2 separate regions of the Homo sapiens genome follow, and region 1 is linked to region 2. Evidence: promoter capture Hi-C in 16 types of primary human blood cells and fetal thymus (Javierre and others, 2016). All regions are on one chromosome and are shown on one strand. Each heading gives the region's core, a stretch centred on a gene start or on the middle of the fragment in contact. The rest is flanking DNA. Distances are from core to core; before and after follow the strand shown. Region 1 overlaps RNF180 (ring finger protein 180). Region 2 holds the start of ADAMTS6 (ADAM metallopeptidase with thrombospondin type 1 motif 6).

Region 1 (5,371 bases), core at 1,837-4,336, 1.3 Mb before region 2:
TTCCCTCAACAGTAAGTTATGACAACAGGTGTGAAATGCTGTGCACCAGGAAGGTCATTATAGACTCAGTAGCTAAGGTTTTTATTGGGAGCTGGTCACATAGGTACCCACTGTCTGACACATACCAAAATTCCAAACTTCTGGAAGGAAAACAGGTGTTAAGCATAAATCACATTGTAGTTTGGGCACAGTGAGTCACTATTATCAATTAGGATGATGGGAGCTCTCCCAAAATTCAAGTTTCTGGATGACACAAGGGCCAGCCTTGTAAATGAAGACAAATATGCTATGTTATCTCTTCTCTGCACATGAGTTTCGGGGAGGAAGACTACAGAGATAAAATGCCATTCTTTATTAGAAGAATACATACTATCAACATGAGTTATCACTGTTGATGTTAACTTGAGAATGTTTTGTAACAGAGGAAAAATAATTGTCACACTTACATATCCCTTACATTAGTTTTCTATTGCTGCTATAACAAATCACTATAAACATTGGTTAAAATAACACAGTTTTATCATCTTATAGTTCTGAAGGTCACAAATCTGAAAATGGGCCTTGTGGGGCTGATATCAATATGTTGACAGGGTAGTATTTCTTCTGGAGGCTCTATAATAGAATCTGTTCCTTTCTTTTTCCAGCTTCTAGAGTCTACCCTCATTTCTTGGCTTGTGGCCCCCTTCCAGCCATATGGCATCACTACAACTCCTATTTTCTTTCATCACATCTTCTTTCTGACCCTTTAAGGACCCTTGTGATTACATTGGGTCTACCTGAATAATCCAAGGTAATTTTCCCATCTCAGGGTCCTTAACTTAATCATAGCTGCAAAGTCCCCTTTCCCATGTAAGGTAGTACATTCACAGGATCTTAGATTAGGACCTGGACATCTTTGGGGAGTCATTATTCTGCCTGCCTCACCTTTCTGGATGCCAGTTATTTTTCTGAGTGCATTATTTCATTTAATTTGACACAATTTTAGAGATAATTTCTATTATTATCCCTATTTTATAGATGGAGAAACTGAGTCTCTGGTTAAATAACTTCCCTAGGCCTACAAACCTAGTATGTGATAATAGACCTGTGTCCCAAAGTTTGTGCCCTTAACCATTATTCCACAGCCTTTCAAGAAAGAAAGTTTTTCTCCCACATATTTTATCTTTTTTTTTGATGATTCAGAAAACATTTTACTATCATATATCTTTATTCTTCATTCATCCTTTCCTTCATGTAACTAATGATCACTTGGTAGTTTACTCTTTGCCAGAAACTGTGTCAAGTATTGAGGATACAACAATGAATGAAATATCATCGCTTCCTGGAAATGGAAGTAGAGGGGGGGAGACACGTGAATTTCAGTAATCATTTTCTTGGGTATTTGCAGAAATGCCATATTGTAGAGAATTTTGGACAGCAGTTTACTTAATATGGGATTGCTTTGGCCAAGACCTTGAGATGCAACTGCGAATTCTAAAGTAGTCACAAAGGAGCAAGCATGATTGGCTCTGTTAGATTTTCTTCAGTTGATCTAGGTTGGGGTGTGTGTGTGTGTGTGTGTGTGTGTGTGTGTGTGTGTGTGTACATACATATTTATATCTCAAGTTATTCCAGGGTCAAAAACTATTGAAAGGAAGAGAGGTAAACAAAAGGAATTTAAAGAGGTTTAGACTTGAGTTGATAGAGTCCTTGACAAAGGATTTATTAACAGCAGCAAAGAAAATTCTGATGGATGTTATAGAGGGAAAGACAGCTGATTTCAGTGGTTGCCAGGCCAACAAAGGTAGATAAAGAACCATACTGGGAGAGAGAAAATATTTTGATCCTATGCTGTCCAACACCTAATATAGGCCCTGGCAGTAAAATGGTATAAATATTTATGTCCAAGTAATGTTTAGTTCATTTATATAGCTTTTCTTACCCTGCTATTGAGAGAATGAGAGTTTTGATTACGAGCAAGGGGGAAAGAGAATGGGAGGGAGAAGTTGTAGTGGTGAGGTGATGACAGCAGGTTAATATTTAATGAGCTTTATTGTATGCTAGGTACAGTGGGAGGTATTTTACTTGCATTACCAGATTTACATGAGCTACTAGGTCACTGGAGTATAGGAAAGGTCTGAGAAAAGAGCACTGACGTCCTCAGGCACTGGGGGGAAATGTCAGTTGGGAGGTAGGAGAACAGCAAAGATGCATGCTGTCTTTCCCAAGTGCTGTGGTTTGAACATGTCACCTCCAAAATGCATATGTTGCCTATGTGATAGTATTCACAGATGGGGCCTTTAAAGGATAATTAGGCCTGAGGACTCCTTCTTCATTAATGGAATTAAAGCCCTTTTGAAACAGGCTGTATACAGTGTTCGGCTAGCTTGCTCTCTTACCCTTCCACCTTCTGCCATGTGAGGATGCAGCAAGGAGGCCTTCACCACACCAAATGCTGGTCCCTTGACCTTGGGCTGCTGGCCTCCCAAACTGTGAGAAAATCATTTTCTTGTCTCAATAAATTACCCAGTCTTGGGCATTCTGTTACTAGCAACCCAAAAGGAATAAGATGCTAAGTTTTATGTAAAGCCAGCTTGTTAGGGGAAAAAATCAGAATCATCAGCTAGTCTCAGAGTAGTAACACACACAGAAAACTGGAACTAACCATTTTGGTCTGAGCTTAGTGCTAGCTGTGTTTGATGAATAGAACTAGGTGATGGCTTCAGCTCTTTTGGCCTTACGCATAGGAAAAACTATCTTTTTTTCATTCTAAATCTGCACATTTGGCCCGGCCGCCCCGTCTGGGAAGTGTGGAGCGCCTCTGCCCAGCCGCCCCGTCTGGGAAGTGAGGAGCGCCTCTGCCCGGCCGCCCTGTCTGGGAAGTGAGGAGCGCCTCTGCCTGGCCGCCCATCGTCTGGGATGTGAGGAGCGCCTCTGCCCAGCCGGCCATCGTCTGGGATGTGAGGAGTGCCTCTGCCTGGCCGCCCTCCGTCTGGGAGGTGAGGAGCGCCTCTGCCCGGCCGCCCTTCGTCTGGGAGGTGAGGAGCGCCTCTGCCTGGCTGCCCCGTCTGGGAGGAAGTGAGCGCCTCTGCCTAGCCGCCCTGTCTGGGAGGTGAGGAGCGTCTCTGCCCGGCCGCCCCGTCTGGGAAGTGAGGAGCGCCTCTGCCCGGCTGCCCCGTCTGGGAAGTGAGGAGCGCCTCTGCCTGGCCGCCCCGTCTGGGAAGTGAGGAGCGCCTCTGCCTGGCCACCCTTCGTCTGAGATGTGAGGAGCACCTCTGCCCAGCCTCCCTTTGGCTGGGAGGTGAGGAGTGCCTCTGCCCGGCCGCCCCGTCTGGGATGAAGCGAGCGCCTCTGCCCGGCCGCCCCGTCTGGGAAGTGAGGAGTGCCTCTGCCCGGCCACCCCATCTGGCCACCCCATCTGGGAAGTGAGGAGCGCCTCTGCCCGGCTGCCCCGTCTGGGAAGTGAGGAGCGCCTCTGCCCGGCCGCCCCTTCTGGGAAGTGAGGAGCGCCTCTGCCCGGCCGCCCCGTCTGGGAAGTGAGGAGCGCCTCTGCCTGGCCGCCCCATCTGGGAAGTGAGGAGCGCCTCTGCCTGGCTGCCCCATCTGGGAAGTGAGGAGTGCCTCTGCCCGGCTGCCCCATCTGGGAGGTGTACCCCACAGCTCCGAAGAGGCAGCGACCATCGAGAACGGGCCATGATGACAATGGCGGTTTTGTCGAAAAGAAAAGGGGGAAATGTGGGGAAAAGAAAGATCAGATTGTTACTGTGTCTGTGTAGAAAGAAGTAGACATAGGAGACTCCATTTTGTTCTGTACTAAGAAAAATTCTTCTGCCTTGGGATGCTGTTGATCTATAACCTTACCCCCAACCCCATGCTCTCTGAAACATGTGCTGTGTCAACTCAGGGTTAAATGGATTAAGGGCGGTGCAAGATGTGCTTTGTTAAACAGATGCTTGAAGGCAGCATGCTCGTTAAGAGTCATCACCACTCCCTAATCTCAAGTACCCAGGGACACAAACACTGCTGAAGGCCGCAGGGACCTCTGCCTAGGAAAACCAGAGACCTTTGTTCACGTGTTTATCTGCTGACCTTCTCTCCATTATTATCCTATGACCCTGCCACATCCCCCTCTCTGAGAAACACCCAAGAATGATCAATAAATACTAAAAAAAAAAAAAGAAAAAATTTTTGTTGTTTTAAGCCACATTTGTGATATTTTGCTACAGCAGCCACAGCACAGATATAGCTGGTAACAGAGTTCTTTAGCCTCCAAAATACAAGCCTGGGGTAAATAACTATTGAATTTGGCCACATGGAAATCAGGAAGAATGTAATAAGCATCATCGATGGATGGGATGACCTGGGAGATCGTGGCAAGTTTAAAGCTAATTGGAAGTTGGCAACCAAAAAGTCCTGTCTTGCAAATTGCCAGGAAATTGCCAAGAAAACCTTTAGAAAACATGATTAAAGATGGAGAAACCCGGCTGACTCCCTGGTTTCTGAAGAGGTGCTTAGGCATTTAAATGAGACTGACGAGACTTCACACTGTACCCTTCAGAAGGGCAGACACTCACGAGATCGTCAACCACGGCTCCCTCGCTGGGAGGCAGACACAGAGCTGGAGGCAGCGGCCACAAACTAGGTGGGCAGAGAGGCGTCAGCATCGGGACTTGCAGGAGGCCCTGGGAAGGAACAGGCAGCGGTGGGGCCTGGACAGCCTTGGGGAAAGGAAGTTACTTGGAGGAGACCAGGGGCTTGCATTTGGGCCAAAACCAAGGACGAGATCAGCTGGTCCCAGGGAACTCTGGAGCCCAGCACCCCACCATGGGTGCAGGGGCCTGACAACCCAACAGAAGGCTGTGGGTACCGGGCACCAGCCTGTGGGGGGTCTGAAGGCTGCTGCCCAGCCACACATGTCCTGGTCCCGAACAAAGGGTTCAAGAGGCACCTGGAGCCCCGCCCTCCTCAGAGCAGCCTCTTAGCCTCAGCTGGTTGTTGGCCTTTGGTCACCCCACATGCCCTGACAGTGGGGCCTGGCCTCAGAAAGGGGCCCCTCCATTTGTACTTTCTATCTGATCCTTGACACAGTGCTAACACCAAAGACCAAACCCGAATCTTGGTTCACATACTCTGCAAAGAAATGACTAAGACTAGTTCTTCTGGAGGTCAGTTTTAGAACATGTTTATTCTAACTTAATTCTGCCTTATCTCTGTGCACCAAGAAAACTATCTGCACATGTGTAGTAAAATGTGAAGGTACCTTCATTTTGTTTGTACACTAAACTTTTAAGAAATATCTCACTTTTAAAATAAATAAATAAATAAAAAATAAATCTGCACATTTGGTTTTATTTACCATGTCAACCAAGATGTACACTGCCAACCTGTTTTT
Region 2 (5,211 bases), core at 475-2,974:
AGTCCACGACACTTGAACATAAAAAGAACATGTTGAAAATCACACTCAAGTGTCTCTTTTAAAGTTCCAAGCAATGGTTCAGTTTCCCTTTTTCTCTCTGCTCTGCACACCCTCACCTCCCCCCGCCCCCACCATTCCACTTCGCCCAGACAGAGGGTAACAGTCTGAGCTGCCCTGGTTGAGTTGATCCTAAAGTTAACATTCAGCAGCCCATTTCCAGACAGCAGCGCTAAATCTATTTGGATAAAACGCGTGTGACCCAGACAGTTGGCATCTGGCCCAAACGCGTTGCACCGGCAGCTCAAATAAAAACAAGAGTAAGAAACTCACTCTCTTGTTCCCTCTCAGTGCGCTTTCTCAATCTCTCGCTCACTTTTCCTCTAGTACAGGGAAAGAAAGCATCAAAGACAGGAATTGTAGCACATATTATCAGAAAGAGGCTTCCCAATACCCCATTCCTGCACTCTCACTCTCCCTCCTCAATCCCTGAACTTTGGTCCCATACACCATATATACAGACCTACCCCGATAAACAAGGCTCCGGAGGGTTATGAGTCTAGCACGTCCCAAGTGGCCAAAAGTAAATCAAAAACACACGTTTCCATCTCTTTGATTAGCCTATTAAGAGCTTAACATGTCCTAGAGCATCGGGGCTACAGCTAGCACATTAATGCTACCCTCTGAGCCCAGGCATAAAATATGCACTTGTCTGAAGACTTAACGACACTGACATGAAACTACAAAATGCATAAGACTTTTCTGTAAGAAAACTGGAAATCAATTTAAAACACACACATCATTATTACCTTCCGGATTACTATTTGGTGATCAGTTAAAAGATTACAATAATCATAATCAAGTCCACTTCACAAAACATGTATTGTATATTCATAAAATAAACGTATTTTTTTTGCATCATAAAATAACTGCAAGTCCCAGAATTCTACAACCCCCGACAAGTCTGGAGTTAAAAAGATATCTATTTGTAAAATGAGTTCAGTCAAGCTCACTCATTGCCATTAAAAAAAAAAAAAAAAACACACACACAGAAAAAAAGTTTTCTAAGCGTTATTCGGAAGACAAGCAAAGCACAAGTTGTTGGTTTAAAAAAAAAAAGCTCCATTGAATATTGTTAAGTCTTCCTTACCGTTTTCATCTTCAAATTCTGATAAAAAGTAAGTTTCAGACAATAGAGATTGCACTGGACGACTCACGTACTCCCTCTCCTCTCTAACTTTTTTTAATTTTTTTTATTTTTTTATTTTTTGCCCCCCTTTGCAAAGCCACACCAGCCAGTTATTCTGCAGCCAGAATAAAACCCTATGGTCTGGCTAACCCGGGCTTTAGAGAACTGACTTTCCGATTTGGCAGAATAAGAGATGCCTTCAATACATCTAGGCTATCACTCTGAGATGCTGCCTTTGCAAACCCCCTTTCTCTCCCTCCCCACCCCCCAAAAAAGGAAAGGAAAAGAAAGAAAAGACGGGAAAAAAGACTTATTGGGGGTGGAAGTGGTGCCCTCTCTTCCTGGAAAGCTTAGTGCCTTTGCTATGCAAATAACATGTGCAGAGCATCAAAAGGTATCAGGAGAAAAGAAGACAAGAGGAGCAGGAAGGGCAGCAAAGTTTTGTTGAAGTAGCCCTAGATCTCACTACCGGCCCCCAGCCAACTTGAATTGCAGCAGGAGAAAATTTTGGCAGCTTTTCCTCGGAGGCAGAGCACACTGACGTCAGTCTGCAGATGTGCCTGGGCTGCGTCGGGTGCGCATGTGTCCTGGGTCGTCACGTGGAGGGGGAGGGGAGGTAGAGGTACAATCGGGGTAACCAACTACCAGCCATTCAGAAGGGCTTAGACAATGTCAACTTTTCCACACTGTGAATGAGAGAAATTCTGGCCTCTCTAACCTCTCTGTCCTATCTCATTCCGCCTCTTTTCCTCCTCCTCCTCTAAACTCTCTTAGAAATTCTAGCCTGGTTTGCTATTAGTTGTTTCTTGGAAAAATGAAGGGGGAGGGAGAAGGATGAATGACTTTAGATGGACTAATGTCACTGTTAAGATCTCTGGTGTCATTCTCCGTGTAATTTTATTTTTAAAATCCACACAATCAAAATGTTAAAACTTGCACGCAAACAGTGCCTCTGAGGAAACTTAAAGCTTAGATTCGTGCAGCAGGCACAAGACTCAGTAGCTACAAGTGTACAAAATGCCTGTGTTTTATACATACTTCAGCAAGTAAGGTTAGCACCAAAAGGGAAAGTAAACTAAAGTAAACTAATACCAGCACATTTTCCATTTGATTATCGACTTCAGGTTATGTGGAGCTTTAAAAGAAGAAGAAGAAGAAAAAAAAAAAGTAGGGGAGGAGGGAGCGGGGGAAGGAAGAGAGAAGCTTGCATTATTTCCAGATGAGGGTGAGACTGGATGGTGTTTTAAAGTGCAACCGGGAAAAGCCACAAGTGGAGTGTATTTTTTTAAGTCAGTCCATTGAATGAAACTTCAATGACTGCCCAAATGAAAATAAATCCGAAGTAGGACCCCACCACCAAAAAAAAAAAGGAAGGGAAAAAAACAGGAACCCTGCTGCGATCTCAAGATAAACAAACAAAACCTCAAAACTGGTTCTTCAACCTTCCCAATCCCACCCTCCCTCCCCCCTACACACAAGCTGCCAGTCCAGACTTTAAGGATAAAATACCGCTACAATGTAGCACTTTCACTTTCATTTGCTGAGAATGAAAGCCGCTGGGGAGAAAATGCCCAGTGTTTTCCATGTCCTAAGCAAGCAAACAAAGTCTGGCACATACATCGGAAACAGGAAAAAATGTGAAAATAGCTCAGGACAAATGTTGCCTTTCAACGGTGTAATCTGCTGCATCATTTATCTGTCTCTACCATTGAGTGTAGAATAGGGAGCTGTTTAAGAGTTTCCGAGGTTGGGGGCAGGGGAAAATTGACGCCTTGAAATTCCAGCCCTTAGTTAATGCCAAGTCAATTTCCGATGGTGAGAACCAGAAAGGAGAACTGGACCGGAGGGAAGGGGGTAGGAAGGATGATCTTTCTGAATACCAGCTCTTAAATATCAAGCTTCTGCTAACATTATTGCCCATTTGATTTTTTTTTTTCTTCCTACGCCGGAGGTAGTAGGTGTAATTCTTCTGGTGAATCTATGAATAGTTGGCTAAAAGGAGGCATGAATCAGACTGAGAACGTCCAAGAATACAGTTATTTCAATTCTTCTTCAAGGGTTGAAAGTGGAAAGCATCTGTCCACAGAGTAAATAGTCCTCATCCTGACCTTAATCAGTAGTATCTGGCTAAAAGCCATTTAAAATGTAGAAATCTGTTCAATAGTGGGCATTGAGTTTTAAATAAAGATGATTCATATGTATGTATGTATGTGTGCGTATTTGTATGTGTATATATATGTGTGTACATATATGTGAAATACATGAGGTAGCAAAATATAGCAATAATTGTAAACACCAAAAATAAGAAAAGTAGGCATCAAATGACTATTTAAATAGTGTTGAACCTTAACCTTCCTTAATTTTTCAAGTACTGGCAGTAAATAGGGACAGCCAGCACACACACAAAAAATAAAGGTATGAGCAGTAAACATCTATATAAGCTCTGAAAAGATTTTACCCTCAACTAAGATAAACTGCCCTACAAAGTAGCAGCTTGTAGAGGAGCTTACTTAGTGGGAGTGGACTTTGGCTAATTACTTATTCAAAGAGTGCCATCCTGTGTCTAAACAGAGTAATGAAATTTTTCCAACAGATTCTGTCTCCAAGTTGATTGGGTCAAGAATACTGTGAATAATTGGTGAAAATTGATTAGGGTGGGAAATGGCGAACTGTCAATTTAACTTTATATATGTGTATATATATGTGTTTGTGTAAATGTTTTAACTGCATTGCAGAAAATTTCAAACATATACAAAAGTAAAAAAAAAAACAGTATAATGAACACTCATGTAGCCATCATCCAGTTTCAAGTGTCCAAGTGTGACCAACTTTGTTTCATCTATCATTTCATCAGATATCGTTTCATTATTTCCCTGTATTTCTAAAAGTACTAAAAAAATATACACCACTATTATTCTTAAAACATTAATAACTCATGTCATCAAATATTGTACTCAGATTTCCCAATTGCAAAAAGGGCTTTAAAAAATGCCTTTTTATTAGAATCAAGATCCATACATTGCAATGGCTCCATCTTTTCTTAATAAACTTTTAATTGAAAATATTCATGCAGAAAAATGTATAATTACATAGTTTGATGACAAGTGTCCAGTCTAATGAATTTTCACAAGTCAACTGGCCCATGTAACCGCCATTCTCTTGTCTCTTTTTAAAATTTTTATTATCTATTTACTTATTTAAATTGACTAATAAAAAATACATATATTTTAGCTGGAACTACAGGCATGAACCACCATCCCCAGCTAAGTTTTTATTTTTGTAGAGATAGGGTCTCCCTGTTGCCCAGGCTGGTCACGAACTCAGCCTCAAGTGATCCTCCTGTGTCCGGAATTTGGTGGGTTCTTGGTCTCACTGACTTCCAGAATGAAGCTGCGGACTCTCAGGTGAGTGTTACAGTTCTTAAAGGCAGCGTGTCCGGAGTTTGTTCCTTCTGATGTTCAGATGTGTTCGGCCTTCTGGTGGGTTCGTGGTCTCGCTGGCTCAGGAGTGAAGCTGCAGACCTTCGCTGTGAGTGTTACAGCTCATAAATGCAGTGTGGACCCAAACAGTGAGCAGCAGCAAGATTTACTGCAAAGAGCGAAAGAACAAAGCTTCCACGGTGTGGAACGGGACCCGAGCAGGTTGCCACTGCTGGCCCAGGCAGCCTGCTTTTATTCTCTTATCTGGCCCCACCCACATCCTGCTGATTGGTAGAGCCCAGTGGTCTGTTTTGACAGGGTGCTGATTGGTGCGTTTACAATCCCTGAGCTAGACACAAAGGTTCTCCACCTCCCCACCAGATTAGCTAGATACAGAGTGTCCACATAAAGGTTCTCCAAGGCCCCACCAGAGTAGCTAGATACAGAGTGTCTATTGGTGCATTCACAAACCCTGAGCTAGACACAGGGTGCTGATTGGTGTGTTTACAAACCTTGAGCTAGATACAGAGTGCCCATTGGTGTATTTACAATCCCTTAGCTAGACAAAAAGGTTCTCCAAGTCCCCACCAGACCCAGGAGCCCAGC

Evidence for each region. The method cuts DNA at HindIII sites, captures the fragments that hold promoters and counts their contacts. A CHiCAGO score of 5 or more calls a contact.
Region 1: a fragment that was not itself captured here is called in contact with the fragment with the promoter of ADAMTS6 in region 2 in 1 of 17 cell types (M2 macrophages); the score reaches 5.4 in M2 macrophages.

What each region holds. Positions count from the first base shown.
Region 1 is chr5:64,222,522-64,227,892 of GRCh38, forward strand. All of the region lies in intron 5 of RNF180 (ring finger protein 180), which reads left to right. Among named protein-coding and RNA genes, the nearest start is that of RNF180, 59 kb to the left of the region's middle. The HindIII fragment of the contact is 6,267 bases long and covers 1-5,371 here.
Region 2 is chr5:65,480,196-65,485,406 of GRCh38, forward strand. It overlaps ADAMTS6 (ADAM metallopeptidase with thrombospondin type 1 motif 6), which reads right to left and starts at 1,725. Exons shown (of 25, transcript NM_197941.4): 1 at 1,148-1,725. LOC124900986 reads right to left here. Exons shown (of 2, transcript XM_047417970.1): 2 at 4,146-5,211. RefSeq lists enhancers at 1,478-1,837, 1,605-2,104, 1,878-1,927, 4,976-5,211. The HindIII fragment of the contact is 619 bases long and covers 1,534-2,152 here.